6 separate regions of the Homo sapiens genome follow, and all the other regions are linked to region 5. Evidence: promoter capture Hi-C in 16 types of primary human blood cells and fetal thymus (Javierre and others, 2016). All regions are on one chromosome and are shown on one strand. The core of a region is centred on a gene start or on the middle of the fragment in contact, and the rest is flanking DNA. Distances in the headings are between cores, read along the strand shown.

Region 1 (3,620 bases), core at 383-2,882, 330 kb after region 5:
CAGAAGAGAGAATAAGGAACTCGCACCTGCTTCTTGAAAGTCTTCACCCTAAAGTGACATACATCACTTCTGCTCTCAGTCCATTGAACATAACTTGTCTTATGGCTTCAACTAGCTGCAAGGGCCTCTGGGAAATGTAGTCCTGGTCTAGGCAGTCAATAAACATCCTGCTGGCTCTGCCACAGAAGGCCTTTCTAAGATGTTCTTTGAGCTGAGACGTGAGAGCCAAAGTGTGAGAGCTACTTGAAAACTGTGAAAATGGAGTTCCCAAAGTGGGAACAGCAAGTGGAAAGACCCTGATGCTGGAATGTGCTCAAAGGAACAGTAAGAAATGAGCTTCTGGCTGGGCGTGATGGCTCATGCCTGTAATCCCAGCACTTTGGGAGGCTGAGGCAGGTGGATCACCTGAGGTTAGGAGTTTGAGACTAGCCTGACCAACATGGAGAAACCCCGTCTCTACTAAAAATACAAAAAAATCAGCCGGGTGTGGTGGTGCATGCCTGTAATCTCAGCTACTTGGGAGGCTGGGGCAGGAGAATCGCTTGAACCCAGGGGGCAGAGGTTGTTGTGAGCTGAGATCGTGCCATTGCACTCCAGCCTGGGCAACAAAAGTGAAACTCCGTCTCAAAAAAAAAAAAAAAAAGAACTTTTATTTTGTGAGCTACTGAAATGGTGGGGTTTATTTGTTATAGCAGCTAGCATGACTCTAAATAATATACCTTGTAGACATCATTGCCCACTAGCTCAGTGTATCTCAAACTACTTGTAACTATGGAGAAGGATCATTTGTTTGATGTTTCCAACCTGTCATGGACCAATCCTTTTGGTCTCTACCCTGTTCAACAAGAAAATCCATTGATCCTATACTTGGATGTCATGGATATGTCAAATTGCTGTGTTTCTAAACACTTGCTGGCAATTTCCGTACTTATCTGGTGGCACACCATTGCAGACACCAGCTCGGTTGGGGAGACCCTAACCCACTGGTGCTAGAGGAATTAAACACACACACACAGAAATATAGAGGTGTGAAGTGGGAAATCAGGGGTCTCACAGCCTTCAGAGCTGAGAGCCCCGAACAGAGATTTACCCACATATTTAGTAACAGCAAACCAGTCATTAGCATTGTTTCTATAGATATTAAATTAAAAGTATCCCTTATGGGAAACGAAGGGATGGGCCGAATTAAAGGAATAGGTTGGGCTAGTTAACTGCAGCAGGAACACGTCCTTAAGACACACATCGCTCATGCTATTGTTTGTGGCTTAAGAATGCCTTTAAGTGGTTTTCCACTCTGGGCGGGCCAGGTGTTCCTTGCCCTCATTCCCGTAAACCCACAACCTTCCAGCTTGGGCGTTAGGGCCATTATGAACATGTCACAGTGCTGTGGAGATTTTGTTTGTGGCCAGTCTTGGGGTCAGTTTATGGCCATATTTTGGGGGGCTTGCTCCCAACACCATAATAGTTGCTGGACCAGTCCTGGCACCACTTTAGCTTCTTATTCTGTTTTATTTTTCTCTATAGCATTTACCATTCCCTGTAATTATCTTGTTTATTTTTGGGTATACTTGTTTATAGTTTTCTTTCCCACTAGAATGTAAGCTCCATCAGAGAAGAAGTTGGCCTTACTTCTCTTGCTCCGTTGTGTTCCTCGTTCCCAAGACAATGCCTGGGACACAGTAGGTGCTCAGAAAGTATTTGTTAAATAATGAGTATTTGTTAAATAAAAATCATGGCTGGGAACAGTGGCTCACGCCTATAATCCCAGCACTTTGGGAGGCCAAGGCAGACAGATTGGTTGAGCTCAGGAGTTTGAGACCAGTCTGGGCAGCATGGCAAAACCCTGTCTCTACAAAAAATATAAAAATTTGCTGGGCATGGTGGCATGCACCTGTAGTCCTAGCTACTCAGGAGGCTGAGGCATGAGAATCACTTGAACCTGGGAGCCAGAAGTTGCAGTGAGCTGAGATTGTGCCACTGCATTCCAGTCTGGGTGACATAGTGTGACCCTGTCTCAAAAAAAAATTTAATAAAATGAAATAAAAATAACAAGGAGGGTGGGGGGAAGGAGGCAATCCATATCTGTTACAGAGGCTCTCTACAATCAGAACCTGACCAGAACTCTAACCAGTTTGTTAACAGCCATTGAGATCCCCTCAAGAGCTGTGGTTTTTTGATAGACCATGGTAGCTCAGATTAGATGTCAACTGAAGAATCATGAGGTTTTGATATGGTTTGGCTGTCCCCACCCAAATCTCATCTTGAATTGTAGTTCCCCAAATCCCCATGTGTTGTGGGAGGGACCTAGTGGGAGGTAATCGAATCATGGGGGTGGTTACCCCCATGCTGCTGTTCTTGAGATAGTGAGTTCTCACGAGATCTGATGGTTTTATAAGGGGCTTTTCCCTCTTTGCTTGGCACTTCTCCTTCCTGCTGCCATCTGAGGAAGGACGTTTTTGCTTTCTTTTCCACCATGATTTTAAGTTCCCTGAGGCCTCCCCAACCCTGCGGAACTGTGAGTCAATTAAACCTCTTTCCTTTATAAATTACCCAGTCTTGGGCAGTTCTTTTCAGCAGCGTGAGAACAGACTAATACAGGTTTACAAATTTGGAAAGGAGAGCTTTATTTCTCATAAAGAGTTGCAGCCTGCAGCCGGGCCATCTCACAGGCCGAGAAGTGTAGCCTCCGGTAGAAGCTGAGAGCAGGCACCTCCAGTAAGGGAAGGATAAGGTCAGAGTTAACGCTGAATGGCTTGGCTCAGTATACATATTCAACAGGTTATAGGAGGAGCTATGAATATTCATGAAGGGAAGGTACAGCACATGTGTAGTAACATCCCATATTCACTTTTTTTTTTTTTTTTTTTTTTTTTTGAGATGGAGTCTTACTCTGTCACCCAGGCTGTAGTGTAGTGGTGCGATCTCAGCTCACTGCAACCTCTCTTTCCCAGGGTTCAAGCAATTCTCCTGCCTCAGCCTCATGAGTAGCTGGGATTACAGGCACCCATCACCATGCCTGGCTAATTTTTTTATTTTTAGTAGAGACAGGGTTTCACCATGTTGGCCAGGCTGGTCTCAAACTCCTGACCTCAGGTGATCCGCCCACCTTGGCCTCCCAAAGTGCTGGGATTACAGGCGTGAGCCACCGTGCCAGGCCCCATGTTCACTTTGGAGTGGAGACTTAACACTTAAATGTATTACAATTAGGCCCTATACATCAAAAGGTGATGCAGAGGACACAAAGGCCCTTTGTGTGCAGCCTCTGTAGACTGGCCAGAGCCACACCCCGTGGTTAGGTGGCCTCTGATCAGGAAGGAATGCTGGTCAGTTGTTATGTTGAAACCACAAAAGGGAGGAGCAGCCATGTATTTCAGGCCATTGGTTGAAATTAGCAGTGAATGAGTCTTTCAATAGGGCTGGTTTCTGTTTAACCCTTAGGGAAGAAAGCTTCATGGCAGTCAGCAAGGGAGGAGGTAGAATGAGGTGTGCCCGACCACCCGTTCAGTCACGGCTAGGAACTCAGCTTTTAGTGTTTCTCTGTAGGCCCCTTGGCCAAGACAGTGTTCATTCAGCCAGTTGGCGGACTTAGGATTTTATTTTTGTCACGTGCGTCCGTGTGA
Region 2 (3,968 bases), core at 198-2,697, 310 kb after region 5:
AGGGTTCTTAAAATGGCCATAAGGCTCTACAAGATTTGGCCTCACCTCTCTGTCCTTATCTCCTCCCACTTTCCTCTTTGCTCACTCCACTGTCACTGGTCTCCTTGCTGTTCCTTGAACACAACAACACAACAGGTATGCACCTGCCTCAGGGCTTTTTTTTTTTTTTTGAGACGGAGTCTCGCTCTGTCACCAGGCTCCAGTGCAGTGGCGCAATCTCAGCTCACTGCAACCTCCGCTTCCTGGGTTCAAGCGATTCTCCTGCCTCAGCCTCCCAAGTAGCTGGGACTACAGGCACGTGCCACCACACCCAGCTAATTTTTGTAATTTTAGTAGAGATGGGGTTTCACCATGTTGGCCAGGATGGACTCGATCTCTTGACCTCGTGATCTGCCCGCCTTGGTCTCCCAAAGTGCTGGGATTACAGGTGTGAGCCACCACGCCCAGCGCCCAGCCTATTTTCATCTTAATAATTTCTCTCTCTTTCTCTACTAGTCATATATAGTTGGCTACTGAGCACTTGAAATGTGACTAATGAGAATAACGAACTATTAAATATAAATTTTAAATATATCAGAACAGTCTCGTCATTGCAGAAAGCTCTACTGGACAACATGTTCTAGAATATAAGCTCCCACAGGGCAGAAATGTCTCTCTCAGTCATTACTGTGTTCTCAGTGCCTGGCATATAAAATATTTGTCATGCTAATTAGTCAACAAGCCAAAACGTCAACAGCTCTCTGTACACAAACACCTACTCTGTTCGAGGCATTGTGTTCCCTGACTTACATGCCTTAGCTCAGCCGTACCTGCTGGTATGTGTTGGTCGCGATAATTGGGCGGATCACAGGAGCCGCTGGGACCTGCATCGCTTCTACTGTGGGGACCGTGGGGACAGTGGGCACCGCAGGCACAGCAGTTGGGATTCCAGGTACTGGAGCCCCCAGAACTTCCTGCTCAAACCTGGAGGAGTAGAACAGACATCAGCGCTCAGGACCTCGTACCAATTTTGGAACTGTGGGTATATCGCGAGGGGACCCTCACCCCTGCCAACCTCTCCCCTATCCCCGCCCCCACAATCCCGAAGGTCCCACTTCCCCATGTTAGAGCCGTATCTCCGGCCTATCGAGGCCTGGAGGCTCCGAGATTCGGTGGCTCTGGCTCTGGGACGACTTTTATCACTCTCTGTCGCGGGCCTTACAGGGCCATCTCCGCCTCCATTTCCTTCAAGCGTTCCTCGCCGCTTTTGCCCGGGATGCCAGCGCCAGGACCCGGGACCACGGGTCCTCCTGCACCCGGGAGTCCCGGGGCTGGCCCCGCCCCAGCCATCGCTGCCGTCGTCGCTGTCGCCGCTACTACAGTCTCTGCTTAGCCGCCGCCGCTGGTTCTGCTGTCTACTCTCCCCCTTCGTCCGGGTGGGCTCCCGAGGATGACGTCCAGCAAAAGCGACGGGCGCTGGCGCATGACGTCATACATTCGGGCGCGAGAGCCAATGAGATTTGGCCACACCCTCAGGGGGAATATAGGCCAATCAGAGTGAGAGAAGGACACACGAACGCAAGAACCTGGGCCTATGAGAGCACAGCGGAGAGGCGGCCCCGCTTTCCTGGAGGACCACCGGCTAATGAGAGCGAAGCAAAGTCAGTTGGGCCCATCCCCAATGTGGAATCTGGACCTTTGAGATCGCAGGAAAGTTTGGAGGACCCTCCTGTGCCACCGCAGAGCCCGCGCCGGAAGTTTAAAAAGACGCTAAAGTCCGTGTCAACCCCAGGGTTGGGCAAGGCTGGGAGGCCTGGCTGGCCCCTCGGGGCCCCTATCCTGGAGTAGGTTGACACCCGACCTGTGGTTTCCAGGAAGACCGGAGACGCCCGGGAGGAAGCGCCTGACCCGGCTTCCTGGAGGAGGACAGCTGAAGACATTTAAAGATGAGAGCTGTTCAGGGTGGGAGCCAAGGCCCAGAGACTAGTGCAACTCAGAGGAGCACGTCCGTGGGCTTGGTCCCTGTCCTTTCTTGGGCCACAGCTGACCCTTTTTTTTTTCCCGTAGCCCTCACAAGTGTTTTATTCTGAGTATTTTCAAACATGCACATTAAGGGGAATAGTATAACGCACTCTTAAGTACATCTCAAACGCTACCAATATTCAACACTTCTGGATTTCACTTGATCTATACTTCTTTGTCACGCGCGTCCGTGTGAAGAGACCACCAAGCAGGCTTTGTGTGAGCAACAAGGCTGTTTATTTCACCTGGGTGCAGGCGGGCTGAGTCCGAAAAAGGAGTCAGCAAAGGGTGGTGGGATTATCATTAGTTCTTACAGGTTTGGGATAGGCTTATAAAGTACATTCTCAAGGGCGGGGAGAATGTTACAAAGTACCTTCTTCTTTTTTTTTTTTTTTTTTTTGAGACGGAGTCTCGCTCTGTCGCCCAGGCTGGATTGCAGTAGTGTGACCTCGGCTCACTGCAACCTCCACCTCCTGGACTCAAGGGATTCTCCTGCCTCAGCTTCCCTAGTAGCTGGGATTACAGGTGTGTACTACCACACCCGGCTAATTTTTGTATTTTTAGTAGAGGCGGGGTTTCACCATGTTGGCCAGGCTGGTAGCAAACTTCTGATCTCAAGTGATCCACTCGCCTCGGCCTCCCAGAGTGCTGGGATTACAGGCATGAGCCACTGCGCATGGCCTTATACTTTTCTTATTTTTATATTTTTTTGCTGGAGTATGTTAAAGCAAATTCCAGACATCAACTCAGTCATAAATGCGCCATTATGTCTCCTTAACAGATAAGAACTATTTTTTTTTTTTTGAGACGGAGTCTCGCTCTGTCGCCCAGGCTGGAGTGCAGTGGCGCGATCTCGGCCCGGCCGATAAGAACTATTTTTAAAAAATACCATTAACGCTGGGCTCAGTGGCTCACACCTGTAATCCCAGCACTCTGGGAGGTCGAGGTGGGCGGATCACCTGAGGTCAGGGGTTTGAAACCCGCCTGGCCAACATGGTGAAACCCTGTCTCTACTAAAAATACGAAAATTAGCCGGCCGTGGTGGCGTGCGCCTGTGGTTCCAGCTACTCGGGAGGCTGAGGCAGGAGAATTGTTTGAACCCGGGAGACAGAGGTTGCAGTGAGCCGAGATCGCGTCACTGCACTCCAGCCTGGGCGATAGAGTGAAACTCAGTGTCAAGAAAAAAAAAATACCATTAACTATGCCATTATGAATACCATCAAATTAATTTCTTAGTATCATCTAACACCCAGACCGTGTTCAGTTTTCCTTGTCTCAAAAATGTCTTTATACGATAGTAGAATCAGGATCAAAACAAGGTCCAAATATTGCATTTGATTGTCTTTTTTTTTTCCTGTCAAAACTTAAATTTTTGCTTGCTCAGATGTTTACCAACAAGAAAAACTTAGAGGCCAGGCGAGGTGGCTCACACCTGTAATCCCAGCACTTTGGGAGGCCAAGGCGGGTGAATCACGAGGTCAGGAGTTCAAGACCAGCCTGGCTAACGTGGTGAAACCCCGTCTCTACTAAAAATACAAACATTAGCTGGGCGTGGTGGCGAGCGCCTGTAATCCGAGCTACTTGGGAGGCTGAGGCAGGAGAATCGCTTGAACCCGGGAGGCGGAGGTTGCAGTGAGCCAAGATTGTGCCACTGCACTCCAGTGACAGTGCGAGACTCCGTGTCAAAAAAAAAAAAAAGAAAATTTAATTTTATTGGCTGCCTTGGTTTCTTGAAGCTGCAGTATGAATCAGTACAAATGAATACCTGCCTGCCTGCCATCTTTCTTTCTTTCCTTCCTTCCTCCCTTCTTCCCTCCCTCCCTTTCTTCTTTCTTTCTCCATTCCCCCTTTTGCCTTCTCTTTATTGAAGAAACTGGATCATTTATCCTATAGGGTGTCACACATTTTGAATTTAACTAATTACATCCTTTTTGTTTCACTTGTTTCTGACTGCCTTCTGCCCCTTT
Region 3 (3,809 bases), core at 65-2,564, 450 kb after region 5:
ACTTCAAAAAGGAACGTCAGAGAACTTAAGATTAACCCAGAATCAGGATAGTAGTTGCCCCTTAGATGGAGAGATCCCATGTGATAGGAGAGTGGCACATAGGAGATAAGGGGGGACGGTGTGTGACAGAAGCCACTTCTATATCATGTTTCATTTCTTCTTTAAATATGTACATTTTATGCACACCTATGCATGTTGTATTTCACAATAACATATTATTAAAGCCAGAGAACACCAGATCAATTTGCAAGTGCTGACAGAATACACAGTCAAGAAACAATTGGAGTCTAGAGAGACTGCAATCTGAACCAAAAAGAAAAAGACAAAGTGAAGTGTAGACAAGCTGTGCACATGAGTGACAGATGTATACTAGCTAGATCATGTGAAATTGACAAAATGCACAAACATGGGTCAGGCCATTCAGAGGATTCAAAGAATGGAAGACATAGCACCTGTTCTCCCTGGGGATGACCTGTACATTTCCCATCAGGTAGAGGAGATAACTCAACACTGGAGACTTGAATCTGCATAAGCAAATCTTATTAAATAACCTTTATTTAATAAAAGGCAGGAAGTAGTCACTCTTCATTTTATACTTTATAAAAACAATAACAAATGCATTTTTTTTTTTTGAGACGGAGTTTCACTCTGTTGCTCAGGCTGGAGTGCAGTGGTGCAATCTTGGCTCACCACAACCTCTGCTTCCCAGGTTCAAACGATTCTCCTGCCTCAGCCTCCTGAGAAGATGGAATTACATCTTCTACATGGGTGCCCGCCACCATGTCCGGCTAATTTTTGTATTTTTAGTAGAGATGGGGTTTTGCCACGTCAGCCAGGCTGGTCTTGAACTCCTGACTTCAGGTGATCCGCCTGCACTGGACTCCCAAAGTGCAGGGATTACAGGTGTGAACCACCATGCCTGGCCAACAAATGAATCTTGTGTGGATACTATACCATCTGTTCAACAGGATGTAGAGATATACACTGAGCTATGAAACAATCTCCAAGATAGAGTAAAATGAAAAAAAGAAAGTGGCAGATCATTATGCTGCCATGTGGTTAAAATAAAGATATGGTACAAATATATGCTATTATCTGCATATTATCTGCTATTATCTGGAATAAAACTTGAGAAGTAACAGTGATAACTTTTGAAAAGTTAGATACTTTCACTGTGTACCCTTTTGGATTTTATGAACAAAAATGTTTTACCATGTGCAAATTACATATTCAAAAGAATAAATTAAAATCAAAACTTTCTAGTAAAGCAAACAAACACCAAAAAAACGCTTTGCACTGTAAAGTGGTAGGGCCTAGTCCATGCAGTGACCCAGAGTAGGTGCCTCTTAACTGAATGAATGAAACTGATTTCTCACATTTACCACACCCTTTTGCTACTCAGAGTGTGGTCCCCGAGCCAGCGGCATCAGCATCACTTGGTGCTTGCTTGCTAGAAATGCAGAAGCTCTGCTCACCCAGAGCTAATGCATCAGAATTTTAACAAGACCCCTGCCCCTGGATGATTCACATGTGGAATAACGTTTGAGAAGCACGGCCTTGGGCATGATGTTGAGTGCTATGCAGAAGGCCTTCAAGGAGTTATGATCCAGTTGATACTTACGATAAAGGAAGCATCCAGGGAGAAGGCACTAGATACCTTAGAACGATATGTTTAAATCTGACAGAAGGGAGGAGATAGTTTTGCACCAGGGTAAGAAAACTGGGGAAAGTAACTTTGAATTTGGCATTCATAAATGAACTTAAAAAAAAAAAAAGTCCCTGTCATACTCAGCCAGGACATAAAGGGACTAAAAACCAAAGCCAAACTAAGTGATTACTTTGGGAGGCTTCTGGGAATCAACTCATTTAAAAAACTGGTAAATAAAGGAAATGAATCAAGGATTCATCCTTACTTTCCTCTATGAACTATATACTTCAGGGTAAACAGTTTCTCTCTCTCTCTCTTTTTTTTTTTTTTTTTTTTTTGAGACAGCGTCTTGCTCTTTCACCGAGGCTGGAGTGCAGTGGCATGATCTTGGCTGGAGGCAGCCTTCACCTCCCTGGCTCAAGCAATCCTCCTGCCTCAGCCTCCTGAGTAGTTGGAACTACAGGCACAAGCCACCACACCTGGTATATTTTTAAATTTTTTGTAGGATGGGTGTCTTGCTATGTTGCCCAGGGTGGTCTTCAACTCCTGACCTCAAGTGATCCTCTGGCCTTGGCCTCCCAAAGTGTTGAAATTACAGGCATGCGCCACCATGCCCAGCTGGCACAATTTTTCTTTATACGAGAATTTGAAACTAATAAATGCAAAAGAAATAATAGAATATTTTCGTTTTTCAAAATTTAATAAAATAATGAATGTAGGCTAGCATCTGTAGGGAAGGAAAAAAACATTTTTTTCTACTGTCTTAGGTTCAGTGGCTGTGGCATGCTAATTACATTAACAAAAGAGGCCAGGCACAGTGGCTCATGCCTGTAATCCTAGCACTTTGGGAGGCCGAGGCAGGTGGATCACCTGAGGTCAAGAGTTCGAGACCAGCCAGACCAATATGGTGAAACGCCATCTCTACTGAAAATACAAAAATTAGCTGGGCATGGTGGCGCATGCCTGTAGTCCCAGCTACTCAGGAGGCTGAGACAGGAGAATTGCTTGAACCTGGGAGGCAGAGGTAGCAGTAAGCCGAGATCACACAACTGTACTCCAGCCTGGGCGACAGAGTGAGACTCCATCTTAAAAAAAAAAATTAACAAAAGATAGATTAGCAGGAGAAAAGGCTTATTATGCATGCATCCAGGAGCTTCACAGAAAAGAAGTGAAAACCTAAAGAAGTGGCCAGGCTTGAGGCTCATATACCGTTTTAACAAAGGGTGATAAATCGTGGAAAAGTAAGCTGGGCATGGTGGCTCATGCCTGTAATCCCAGCACTTTGGGAGGCTGAGGAAAGCGGATCACTTGAGGTCAGGAGTTCGAGACCAGCCTGGCCAACATGGTGAAACCCCATCTCTACTAAAAATACAAAAACATTAGCCAGGTGTGGTGGTGCACACCTGTAATCCCAACTACCCAGGAGCTGAGGCATGAAAATCCCTTGAACCTGGGAGGTAGAGGTTGCAGTGAGCCCAGATCACACCACTGTACTCCAGCATGGGCGACAGAGTGAGACTCTGTCTAAAAAAAAAAAAAAAAAAAATTGTGGAAAAGTGACAAAACGGTGAAAAAGGGATTTGGACATCCAGGTGATGTAAATTGTGGGAAGGTAAGTAAAATATACAGGGGAAATTAATGGAAGATAAAGGGTTATTTAGCAAGATTTGCTTATGCAGATTCAAGTCTCCAGCGTTGAGTTATCTCCTCTACCTGATGGGAAATGTATACCCTGCTTTAGGCAGAAAGGGAGAGGACAGAGAGTTCCTCTTCTGTCTGCTGCTTCTTAATTGCCTTCTACTCAAAATAATCCTTATGCTAAAGCAGCATACTTTGGAGTAGCACATGCTAATCCCTTCACATTAATGACTGCCAAACCCGGCAGGTGAAATGCTGATGGGGAAATTTATGGTGGTGGATCAGGCTCACAACCAGTGAACCCATGTATCTATCCAACACCCAGAGAGAGAAGAGACAAGCTTCTGCAGACCTGATGCAACAGAAAGCACAGGGCCCCACATAGGAAGCATTCTTGCCAAAAATCAACTCCAAACCTGATTAAAACTCTAGACTCTAGATCTAACTACCAGTTTGCAGGGGGATGAAAAGGCACAGAGGAACACAGTAAAGGATTCTACAGGAAAGATGTTAATAACTCCCC
Region 4 (3,721 bases), core at 581-3,080, 380 kb after region 5:
CCCTCCACACAAGGCCTCCATCTTCCACCTTCACCCTTCCCCGCAGCTCTCAGAGCCCGCACCGAGCTCTCGGCCCCGCCCCTCTCCTCAGCCCCGCCCCGTTCCCTCGTCCACAGCCCCGCCCCGTTCCCCCGTCCACAGCCTCGCCTCTCCCCCCCGCCCACAGCTGTCCATCCATACGCTGGAGGACCCGCGGGACCCGCGACACTTGCTGGTGATGAAGGGCGCCCCCGAGCGCGTGCTGGAGCGCTGCAGCTCCATCCTTATCAAGGGCCAGGAGCTGCCGCTGGACGAGCAGTGGCGCGAGGCCTTCCAGACCGCCTACCTCAGCCTGGGAGGCCTGGGCGAACGCGTGCTCGGTGAGACCCCTGGGCAGGGGAGGAGACTCCAGGTGCGAGGAGGAGCTAGCACAGACCCTGCCCACCACTCCCGGCCCAGCCCTGACCGTCCTCATCCCTGGCTGCTGGCTGATTTGTCGCAGTCCACAGCCTCACCCTTGACTTTCCCTGTACCAGTCCTGACCCCTGTCTGTCCTCACTTTCTACCTTGACCCCAGTCCTCACCTGGACTTTTATCCGTATCCTGACCTCTAACCTCTCCCAATTTTTGTCCTGACGCCTTAAACTTCGCTGCCTCTACCCTAGAAAGCAGATCTGTGGTCCAATTCTGGGCCTTTTACTTGCTGTGTGACCTCTGGCAAGAAATGTCCCCTCTCTGAGCCTCAGTTTCCTCATCTGTAAGATGAGAATGGGCCTCACAGGGTGGTTGTGAGGGTAGATTCAGATAATGTGAGTGAAGGGGTCAGCACAAGGTCAGGCATCCATAGGTGTTTGGTGCAAGGGGCCTGGTTATTTTACCCATTTCCTGGCCCTGCTAAGAAAGGGTGTGCCCAGGGCTCTTCCCTGACTTCCCCGTTTCCGGTCAGGCTTCTGCCAGCTCTACCTGAATGAGAAGGACTACCCGCCTGGCTATGCCTTCGACGTAGAGGCCATGAACTTTCCATCTAGCGGCCTCTGCTTTGCGGGACTTGTATCCATGATTGACCCACCCCGGGCCACCGTCCCTGATGCTGTGCTCAAGTGTCGCACCGCAGGCATCCGGGTATGCCACTGTGGGGAGGAACAAGTGGAGTGAGGACAGAGGATGGCAGCAGGATTTGGGTTGAAGAACCCCATGACAAACCCACCTGAAACTGGCTTGAACCAAAATGCATTGGTTTATGATACTGAAAAATTCTGGGGAATTAAGCTTCAGGTCTAGCCAGATCCAGGAGCTCAGTGTCATTAGGAATTTTCCTTTCTCCATGTCTCAGCTCTGCTGTTCTCTTTGCTGGCTTTATTTGCAGGCACTCCCTTCACTTGGGGACACACACACCCCTGCTCCAGCAGCTCAAACTTAACTCCCACCTGCTTAGCCACCCCACAAAAAGAGAGTGCCTCTTTTGCAGTAGCACTGGATTGGGTCACTCATTTATCCCTGAGCCAGTCACTGGGGCTGGGGGATGGAAGACCTTGATTGGCCAGGTCTGGGCTTACTTACCCAATCTTAGCCAGGGACCTCACTGCAACTGATGGTGTAGGGGAGAGGAGTGGTTCCCCAAACACAAAACAAGGGTGGGAAAGCCAAGGCCAGGCAGGCAATGCCCAAGCCCTTCCCGTGTCTCTACGGCCCTGTTACATCGGGCCTTGTTACCTTTCTAAGCTTGTTCGTTAGCCCTCTTTCCTTGTTCACTCCTCTGCAGTTATGGTGTCCTCCCTGCTGTTCCTCCGACAGTTCGGGCCTGTCCTCACCTCAGGGCCTTTGCACCTGCTGTTCTCCCTGCCAGGAGCACTCTTCTCCCAGCTTTCCACGTGGCTGACTCTCTCACCTCTTACAGGTCTCTGCTCAGATATCACCTTCTCAATAAGCCCTTCCCTGGGTACACTTAAAATCGAGTCACCGTTTCCTTCACCAAGCTTAATATGTTTTTTTCCACTTTCTAACACACTATATAATTCGTTTCTTTATTTTCTGTCACCCTCACTAGAGCTCCTCAAGGACAGGGATTTTTGTCTCTTTTGTCTCTGCTATATCCCAGGCACGTAGGAGGTGGTCACGCTTGGTCAAGTAAATGAACACGTGTATCAGCAGATGTCTCCCAGGGAGGACAGGGAGATTGGGCTGATCTGAAGGGGTCAGTGATCCACTGGTTCCCCCTACAGGTGATCATGGTAACGGGTGACCACCCCATCACCGCCAAGGCCATTGCAGCCAGTGTGGGCATCATCTCGGAAGGCAGCGAGACAGTGGAGGACATCGCTGCCCGCCTCCGTGTGCCCGTAGACCAGGTTAATCGCAAGTAAGCCCCCCCAGACCTCCCCGGGGTTCTCCCCACATCTGGCACAGACCGAGGTCCCAGCGAGGTCCTCCCATCTCCTCCCCAGGGATGCCCGTGCCTGTGTGATCAATGGCATGCAGCTGAAGGACATGGACCCATCGGAACTGGTCGAGGCCCTGCGCACCCACCCCGAGATGGTGTTTGCGCGCACCAGCCCCCAGCAGAAGCTGGTGATCGTGGAGAGCTGCCAGCGGCTGGTGAGCCCTGCTGATGAGGGTGGGCAGGCGGGCAGACAGGCGGGGCTGGTCTTGGACCGGCCTCTCACTGACCACCCACCCACCACCTGCACCCACTGCCTGCAGGGTGCGATTGTGGCCGTCACGGGGGATGGTGTGAATGACTCCCCAGCTCTGAAGAAGGCAGACATCGGAGTAGCCATGGGCATCGCTGGCTCAGATGCTGCCAAAAATGCAGCTGACATGATCCTGCTGGATGACAACTTTGCCTCCATTGTGACAGGCGTGGAGCAGGGTCCGAGCCACGCCAGGGGGAGGGCAGGCAGTGTGGGCACAGGAGGGAGAGGGCTGTGAGGAGGCTGAGGTGCCCACCCTACCCCACAGGTCGACTGATCTTCGACAACCTGAAGAAGTCTATTGCCTACACATTGACCAAGAACATCCCAGAGCTGACACCCTACCTCATCTACATCACCGTCAGCGTGCCCCTGCCCCTCGGGTGCATCACCATCCTCTTCATCGAACTCTGCACTGACATTGTAAGTCCACAGCCCAGGGTACCCATCCACAGGGTGCCCAGAGACACTTGCTTGCAGATGGACAGGAGGGACAGAGACCACCACAGACACTCTTGGGCACAGAGTGACAGACAAGACCTGTGTGTGCAATGACAGCCAGTGCAGGACACATGGGTGGCAGGCAGGTGAACAGACCTAAATGGACATACAGCCATGCACACACAGGCGGACACTCAGGTAGGCCCGGGCCGACCCATGCACACACATGACTCAGATACAGATACTCAGACAGAGATGGAAACAGAACAGGTATCTGGCCAAACTTGAATCACAGACACGTGCCCCTAAACAGACACGGACAAATAAACCCCCTCAGATAGACCCCATGGCAGACAGACAGAAAAGAACCACAGATACAGTCACGAATGCAGCCAGAGGCGCAGCTGTGTTGACAGGTATTTATTCGGTAACATTTACACAGTGCTTTCTCTGGGCCAGACACACCATCATTTCCTTAATTTTGTACTCATAACCACACTATGAGATGAGTTTTGTTACTATCACCCGTACTTTACTGATGAGCTCATCAAGGCATAGACAGGTAGAGTGGATTGTCCCAGGTCACTGGGCAAATAAGTGGCCCGGCTGTG
Region 5 (3,853 bases), core at 1-2,500:
GGTACCGTAACCCGCAGCCACAATGCTCCTCCCAGCCCGTCCCCACCTTGAGGTTTCAGCAGCCTTACCTGAGCTAGAAGCAGCCCCAGGGAGCAGAGTCCTAGCTCCAGGGGAGTCAGAGGTCAGGGCTCTGGAGGGAGCATCTGGTCATGCTTTTCCTGTCCCCAAGGCTTCTGTAGAGGGACTGTGTCCTGACTCGGCTCAAATCTGTGGCAACGGAGTCTCCAGACCTTAATACTCGGGGTTCCAGACCCCTAAATATTGGGCCTCTAGGGTCCAGTTTTACGGGTCCAGTTTGGGTTGTTCAGGGTCAGGGTCTCCCAGGTCCAGTCTTGGGATGCTAAGCAGCCAAACGGTGGGGTTTAGAGTCTGAGATCCGATCCCGGGGTTCTGCATTCAGATATTGGGGTGCTGAGTCAAGATTGGGAGGTCTCAAGCCCCAGATTTAAGCACTCAGGTCTGCAGCAAGGACTTCAGGCCCAAACTCGGGTTCAGGCCCCTTGGAATCCCACAGTCCAGATCTTGGAATTTGAGGCCTGAATCCCAGGGTTCAGGTCCCCAAGAGTGGGTTCCAGGGTACAGTACTGGAAATCCAGTCCCAGATTTCAAGGTCCCAGGCCCAGAATTCAGAGTTCAGCTCCAGGCTTGAGGTTTTAGATGTCAAATCTTGGGGTTCTGCTCCAAATATTGGGGTCTGTGTTCCAAATTGTGGGGTTCCGGCTCCAAATATTGAGGTCCCAGTGACCGATGTTGAGATTCCAGCCCCATATACTGGGGTTCAGGCTCCAGATCTTGGGGTTCCACGGCCGGATCTCGGGGTGCTGGTCCCAGATCAGGGTTCCAGGCTCGGGTTTCCGGAATTCCCGATTCAATCTGGGGGTGCAGGCCCCCGAGGTGGAGGTTAGGGCGCGGGGTCCGGGGCGGCGGCGTCCCGGCTGGCTTCCTGGGCTGCGGCGGAGGCTGACTGGGAGGGAGGGGACCGGCTGCGGTGGGGAGGGGGGCGACCGGGCAGCCCCAGGGCCGGGTGGGGCGAGGCCTGGGAGCGGAGGGACGGTCAGACAGACTGGGACACGCGGGATGGGGGCACCGCAGCGCAGGCGGGGGCGCAGGGGGGAGGGGCCGCGCTCAGAGACCCCTCCCCCGCCGGGGCCGAGGCGGGGGCCGGGCGGGGGCCGGGCTGGGCGGGCCGGGTCCAGGCGCTCCCGCGGCCTCCTCGCCGGCAACCCAGGGCAGCGCGCGCACCGGCGCTTAAAGGCGCAGGCTCCGCGCGCACCCGCGCTTAAAGGCGTAGGCACCCGCCCCTTCTCTCAAAGACGCGCCCCGGCCCCACCTCCCATGGAGTCGCACTGGCGCTGCTGGGAAAGAGAATCCCTGGATACAGAGAGACTGAGACAGAGAGACAGAGAAGAACGGAGATACAGAAAGGCAGACAAAAAGATGGGCAGGCTTAGATTGATGGATAGAGAGGAGAAAATGGAAAGAGGCAGAGAGACAGATTGAAACACACACATATTCGAGACATGGAAATGCACAGAGACAGCGAGACACAGAGAGTGATGGAGAGACAAGAGATAAGGACAAGTCAGAGAAAGACAGAAACAGAGATAGAGACGTGCGTGCGCGCGCACACACAGACACACACATACACACTCACACGCTCTAAGACGCAGCACCTGGGCTGTGAGAATGGTATGTGTGTATGTGCATTCAGTAACTATTCCTAGCCTTGAGTGTAGCGCTTCATTCCAGAGCCACTGGCCCCCCAAACCTGTCTCTTTCTGCCCCCCTTATCTCAGCACCACCTCCCTGGAATGTCCTTTCCACGGTTGGAGTTTCCTTACCTGGCCATGCCCAGCAATAGGCTTGATCTTTCAGGCCAGAGGGGCTCCTTCCCAAGGCTCCTTTCTCTGCCTGCAAGAGGGAAAACTTGTGCCATCTGGGATTAGGGAAAGACCTCAAGACACACTGACAGCCGGGGGCGGTGGCTCACGCCTGTAATCCCGGCTCGTTGGGAGGCCAAGGCGGGCGGATCTTTTGAGATCAGGCGTTGGAGACCAGCCTGGCCAACATGGAGAAACCCCGTCTCTACTAAAAATACAAAAATTAGCCGGGTGTGGTGGCGGACGCCCGTAATCCCAGCTACTCGGGAGGCTGAGGCAAGAGAATTGCTTGAACCCGGGAGGTGGAGATTGTAGTGATCTGAGATCCAGCCATTGCACTCCAGCCTGGGTGACAGAGTGAGACTCTGTCTTTAAAAGAAAGAAAGAAAGAAAGAAAAGCAGAGAGGGATGCCTTGCCTTGCAGGAGCCAGGCCAGGTGTCCTTGCAGTGCAGCCCACCAGGATCACCCGGGGGCACCATAGATCTCCAGGTCCCAACCTCAGAGTTTCTGGTTCAGTGGGTCTGAGGTGGGACCCAAACATTTGCATTTTTAACGAGTACCCAGGTGATGCTAATGTGACTTTTCAAAGACCATACTTTTTTTTTTGAGACAGGGTCTTGCTTTGTCACCCAGTACATTGGTGCAATCATAATTGACTGCAACCTCAAATTCCTGGGCTCAAGCAATCCTCCCACCTCAGGCTCCAGAGTAACTGAGACTACAGGCATGCATCGCCATATCCAGCTAATTTTTAAAATTTCTTGTAGAGACAGGGTCTCAATATGCTGCCCAGGCTGGTCTTGAACTCTTGGCCTCAGGCAATCCTCCCTCCCAGGCCTCCCAAAGTGTTGTGATTACAGGTGTGAGCCACTACACCTGGTCAGGGACCACATTTTGAGAACAGCTGGGCTGAACCAGGGCTATCTGCACTGCACACGGAACTGTCTACCACAACAGCTATGCTAAAACCTGGTGGGTTGAGGGCATGTAGCACCGCAGATGTGTACCAAAGAGACAAATGTATTTAGAGACATAAAGAGGAATTCAGTCTATAAGGGACTTAAACAATGCAACAAGCAAAAAACAAATAACCCCATTTTATTATTATTTTATTTATTTATTTATTTTTGAGACAGAGTCTAGCTCTGTTGCCCAGGCTGGAGTGCAGTGGTGTGATCTTGGCTCACCGCAAGCTCCACCTCCCGGGTTCACGCCATTCTCCTGCCTCAGCCTCCCGAGTAGCTGGGACTAGAGGCGTCTGCCACCATGCCCAGCTAATTTTTTTGGTATTTTTATTAGAGACAGGGTTTCACCATGTTAGCCAGGATGGTCTTGATCTCCTGACCTCGTGATCTGCCCGCCTCGGCCTCCTAAAGTGCTGGGATTACAGGCGTGAGCCACAGTGTCCGGCCTATTTATTTATTTATTTTTTTAGACAGAGTCTTACTTTGTTGCCCAGGTTGTAGTGCAGTGGCATAATCTTGGCTCACTGCAACCTCTGCCTCCTTGGTTCAAGTGATTCTCCTGCCTCAGCCTCCCAAGTAGCTGGGATAACAGGCACCTACCACCATGCCTAGCTAATTTTTGTATTTTTAGTAGAGATGGGGTTTCGCCATGTTGGCAAGGCTGGTCTTGAACTCCTGACCTCAGGTGATACCCCCCACCTCGGCCTCCCAAAGTGCTGGGATTACAGGTGTGAGCCACTGCGCCCAGCCCCCATCTCTTTTTTTTTAAGACAGAGTCCTGCTCTGTCGCCCAGGCTGGAGTGCAGTGGCATGATCTCGGCTCACTGCAATCTCCACCTCCTGGGTTCAAGCTATTCTCCTGCCTCAGCCTCCCGAGTAGCTGGGATTACAGGCATGCACCACCACGCTTGGCTGATTTTTATTTTGAGACGGAGTCTCACTCTGTCACCCAGGCTGGAGTGCAGTGGCGTGATCTTTGCTCACTACAACCTCCGCCGCCCGGATTC
Region 6 (3,984 bases), core at 269-2,768, 290 kb after region 5:
AGACCAGCCTGGGCAACATGGTGAAACCCCATCTCATCTCTACAAAAAAAATATTAAAATTGGCCGGAAGAGGTGGCTCACGCCTGTAATCCCAGCACTTTGGGAAGCCGAGGTGGGTGGATCACCTGAGGTCAGGAGTTCAAGACCAGCTTGGCCAATATGGTGAAACCCCATCTCTACTAAAAATACAAAAAATTAGCTGGGCATGGTGGCGTGCACCTGTAATCCCAGCTACCAGGGAGGCTGGGGCAGGAGAATCACTTGAACCCAAGAGGCGGAGGTTGCAGTGAGCCGAGATTGTGCCATTGTACTCCAGCCTGGGCGATACAGCAAGATCTTGTCTCAAAAAAAAAAAAAAAAATTAAAATTAGCCAGGTGTGGTGGCGCGTGCCTGTGGTCCCAGCTACTGAGGCAGGATCGCTTGCACAGGGAAGCAGAGGTTGCAGTGAGCCAAGATTTCTCCACTGCACGCCAGCCTGGGTGACACAGTGACCCTGTCTCAAAAAAGGAGAAAAACAAAAAAAAGGAATGTCTATGATTTTCATTGCTAACAAAATCACCGCTGCTGCTAGTACTACCGAGGTTGCTGCCTCAAAAGGTTAGTAAAAACACAGATGCAATTCCACCCCCCACCCCAATTCAAGTACTAGCATTCCTTGAATTCTACCAACTCTGCGGACCCAGGGTTAAACACCTTTAATATAATGTCTCTGAAGAAGTGACAGTGTTCGTCGGGAGCCTGAGAGAAAAGTATCTATATTCCAGGGAATCCTAGGAGTCGTGGGGCTATACAGAGACTTGCAGAGCAGTGTCAAATTCAAGCGACGCAAGGTGGTGGTGGGGGTCTGGAGCACTAAAACAGTCTTTCGGTGGGGAAGTGGGGTGTAAAACACCAGCTGCTGGGGCACAGACGCAGTAGGAAGGATCGTTACCGGCGAGATCTCTACCCGGTATCTGAGGATGAGGGTGCATCGGAGATGACGCTGCGGCCCCTCCAACGTCCAAAAGGGAGGATGGACTGGACACCCGGGAGCCAGGCTGCGGCCCAGGCAAGCCGCGAGAGGCCACGCCTGTGAATTAGCCATGAAGAGCCCTGGAGGACAAACTCCTGGGCCAAATCCTGGTCGCTGTGTAGGTTCAGCTAGGTCGCTTGGTATCTCTGAGCCTGTTTACTGACAAAAGGGGATAATCGCAGGCCCTATCTCATAGGGCTGGTGGGAGAGTTAAATAAATTAATTAAAGTTGTTTGGGATGTTGCCTGGCATCAAGGAAGAACCGTATCATTGTTAGCTCTTACGATGAACAGAACAGGGCCCCGGGGTCCAGGGAGGCCGGACGCCGCCAGCCGGAAGCCTCAACCCGTTCTCAGGGAAGCTGGGGTCCGGCTCCTCAGCCCGCTAGACTGGGGTCCCAGGTTACAGAACCCTCCACACTCACCTAAAGGCACCCCGGATTCAACCTGCAGCTCAATGTGACCCTCAGCAAAGACACCACAGTCGGACAGGAAGCGGAACTACTACCAGCCGGAAGCTGAGAGAGGTGGGGACTACGGGAGTCTTGCGAGCGGCTTCAGCTCCCTCCCAGGAGGAGGCCACTGAAGTCATTCAAGCCACGCCCAGCAAGAGAACTACGACTTTCTATTGGGCTAAATGCTTGTTCATCCTCACTTCTGGCCCAATCGTGAGCTTGCGCGGCTGGGGCTCGGGCGCCCGTGGGTTACCCGATCTCATCACCTCTGTGTCTTCACTCGGAGAGAGTGTTATAGATCCCGGGGCTGGCTGGAGGGTAGGTGTGGAGAAAAATGTCCCAGCGAAAGTACTTTTATTCATGCAAGAAATATTTATTGAACGCTTTTTCTGTGTCAGGTATTTCTTTTCTTTAAATTTTTTTTTTCTTTTTTTTAAATTTTTGAGACAGGGTCTTACTCTATGGCCCAGGCTGGAGTGCAGTAGCGCGATCTCAGCTCACTGCAACCTCCGCCTCCTGGGTTCAAGCGATTCTCCCGCCTCATCCTCCCGAGTAGCTGGGATTACAGATGCGCACCGCTACTCCTGGATATATATATGCATTTTATAGAGATGGGGTCTTGCTGTGTTACCCAGGCTGGACTCGAACTCCTGGTCTCTAAGCGATCCTCCCGCCTCGGCCTTCCAAAGCGTTAGGATTACCGGCGTGACCCACCGTATCCAGCCATCAGGCACTTTACGGGTTGAGAAAGCACGCTGCACAAAACACAAAAATCCCTACCCTTAAAATATATATATAGAGAGAGAGACGGAGTCTCACTCTGTCGCCCAGGCTGGAGTGCAGTGGCACGAACTTGGCTCACTGCAACCTGCGTCTACTCGGTTCAAGCGATTCTCCTGCCTCAGCCTCCCGAGTAGGTGCGATTACAAGCGCACGCCACCACTCCCGGCTAATTTTGGTATTTTTGGTAGAGATGGGATTTCACCATGTTGGTCAGGTTGGTCTTGAACTCCTGACCTCAGGTGATCTGCCCACCTCGGCCTCCCAAAATGCTGGGATTACAGGCGTGAGCTGCCCTACCTGGCCAATTTGGCTTTTTTTTTTTTTTTTTTTTTTTTTTTTTCAGACAGAGTTTTGCTCTTGTTGCCCAGGCTGGAGTGCAGTGGTGTGATCTTGGCTCACTGCAACCTCCACCTCCCGAGCTAGAGCGATTCTTCTGCCTCAGCCTCCCCAGTAGCTGGGATTACAGGCATGCGCCACCACACCTGGCTAATTTTGTATTTTTAGTAGAGATGCGGTTTGTCCATGTTGGTCAGGCTGGTCTTGAACTTTTGACCTCAGGTGATCTGCCCGCCTTGGCCTTCCAAAGTGCTGGGATTACAGGCGTGAGCCACCGTGCCCGGCTATATCTGTTCTTTTACATTATGTTTACCTCTTTTTGCCTCCCTCAACAGAAAAGAATTATCATAAAGGAAGAATTTTTGTCTGCCTTATTCATTCACCATTGTATCTAAAGCAGTGCCTGGCACACAGGAAGTGGTCTATAAATATTTGCTGAATGCAAGAATTTCTTGTGGAAATGAAGGAAGCATCTAGGGACTAGGAGAGGGAGCTATGAAAGAGAACTGCTTTCCTTCCTCCCCCATCTGGCCTCTAAAGCCTCTCACATACCATCTGGGGTGCAGTGTCCAGATGGAATTGGGTCAGGGACCTCTTCTTACACATTCTGTGTCCATCAACATTGTGATTATTTGTGGAATTACCTGTTTACATGCATGTATTCATCCCCTGCAATGAGATCTTCCTAAAATCCAAATCCCTTTCCCTGCTTAAAACCCCTTGATGGGGGCCAGGCACGGTGGCTCACTCCTATAATCCCAGCACTTTGGGTGGCCAAGGCAGGCGGATCACCTGAGGTCAGGAGTTCAAGACCAGCCTGACCAACACGGTGCAACCCCATCTTTACTAAAAATACAAAAATTAGCTGTGCGTGGTGGTGTGCACCTGTAATCCCAGCTATTTGGGAGGCTGAGGCAGGAGAATTGCTTGAACCTGGGAGTCGGAGGTTGCAGTGAGCTGAAATTGCATCACTGCACTCCAGCCAGAGTGACAGAGTGAGACTCCATCTCAAAAAACAAACAAACAAACAAAACCCTTGATGGCTCCCCAGGAGCCCTGGAGACAAAGTCCAGGCTCCTCACCACGGCCCACAGATCCTTTATGAATTGGTCCCTGTTGCTGCTGTAGCCACGTTTATTTTTAATTTTTTAAATAGAGATGGGGGTCTCCCCTATGTTGCTCAGGCTGGTCTGGAACTCCTGGCCTCAAGGCATCCTCCTGCCTCAGCCTTCCAAAATGCTGAGATTACAGGTGTGAGCCACTATGCCTGGCCCACACTGATAGTTTTGAGCAGTGGTATGAGATCGTCTGCCTCTGGGCCTTTGATCTTGTTGTTCCTTCTGCCTGAAACATTCTTTGCCTACCTGACTTCTCAAATCAGCTGTCTCCTCCTCCAGG

What was found. The method cuts DNA at HindIII sites, captures the fragments that hold promoters and counts their contacts. A CHiCAGO score of 5 or more calls a contact.
Region 1: a fragment that was not itself captured here is called in contact with the fragment with the promoter of LRFN3 in region 5 in 1 of 17 cell types (neutrophils); the score reaches 5.3 in neutrophils.
Region 2: the fragment with the promoter of RBM42 here is called in contact with the fragment with the promoter of LRFN3 in region 5 in 1 of 17 cell types (neutrophils); the score reaches 7.6 in neutrophils.
Region 3: a contact is called between a fragment that was not itself captured here and the fragment with the promoter of LRFN3 in region 5, in 1 of 17 cell types (neutrophils). The highest score is 6.5, in neutrophils.
Region 4: a fragment that was not itself captured here is called in contact with the fragment with the promoter of LRFN3 in region 5 in 1 of 17 cell types (M2 macrophages); the score reaches 6.0 in M2 macrophages.
Region 6: the fragment with the promoter of COX6B1 here is called in contact with the fragment with the promoter of LRFN3 in region 5 in 1 of 17 cell types (neutrophils); the score reaches 8.4 in neutrophils.

The regions. Positions count from the first base shown.
Region 1 is chr19:35,604,953-35,608,572 of GRCh38, reverse strand. It overlaps HAUS5-DT (HAUS5 divergent transcript), which reads left to right. Exons shown (of 2, transcript NR_186318.1): 2 at 1-184. Among named protein-coding and RNA genes, the nearest start is that of HAUS5-DT, 5.9 kb to the left of the region's middle. The HindIII fragment of the contact is 3,634 bases long and covers 1-3,449 here.
Region 2 is chr19:35,626,515-35,630,482 of GRCh38, reverse strand. It overlaps RBM42 (RNA binding motif protein 42), which reads right to left and starts at 1,447. Exons shown (of 10, transcript NM_024321.5): 1 at 1,202-1,447; 2 at 810-963. The coding sequence starts at 1,329. RefSeq lists enhancers at 1,342-1,636, 1,785-2,024, 1,950-2,477. The HindIII fragment of the contact is 21,053 bases long and covers 1-3,968 here.
Region 3 is chr19:35,480,878-35,484,686 of GRCh38, reverse strand. No RefSeq gene overlaps it. Among named protein-coding and RNA genes, the nearest start is that of KRTDAP, 7.7 kb to the left of the region's middle. The HindIII fragment of the contact is 4,631 bases long and covers 1-3,629 here.
Region 4 is chr19:35,554,293-35,558,013 of GRCh38, reverse strand. ATP4A (ATPase H+/K+ transporting subunit alpha) reads left to right here. Exons shown (of 22, transcript NM_000704.3): 11 at 167-359; 12 at 926-1,101; 13 at 2,202-2,338; 14 at 2,424-2,574; 15 at 2,680-2,848; 16 at 2,938-3,092. Among named protein-coding and RNA genes, the nearest start is that of ATP4A, 7.5 kb to the left of the region's middle. RefSeq lists an enhancer at 1-78. The HindIII fragment of the contact is 254 bases long and covers 1,704-1,957 here.
Region 5 is chr19:35,933,771-35,937,623 of GRCh38, reverse strand. It overlaps LRFN3 (leucine rich repeat and fibronectin type III domain containing 3), which reads right to left and starts at 1,250. Exons shown (of 3, transcript NM_024509.2): 1 at 69-1,250. The HindIII fragment of the contact is 21,793 bases long and covers 1-3,853 here.
Region 6 is chr19:35,645,857-35,649,840 of GRCh38, reverse strand. COX6B1 (cytochrome c oxidase subunit 6B1) reads right to left here and starts at 1,518. Exons shown (of 4, transcript NM_001863.5): 1 at 1,438-1,518. RefSeq lists enhancers at 1,257-1,306, 1,467-1,526. The HindIII fragment of the contact is 14,427 bases long and covers 1-3,984 here.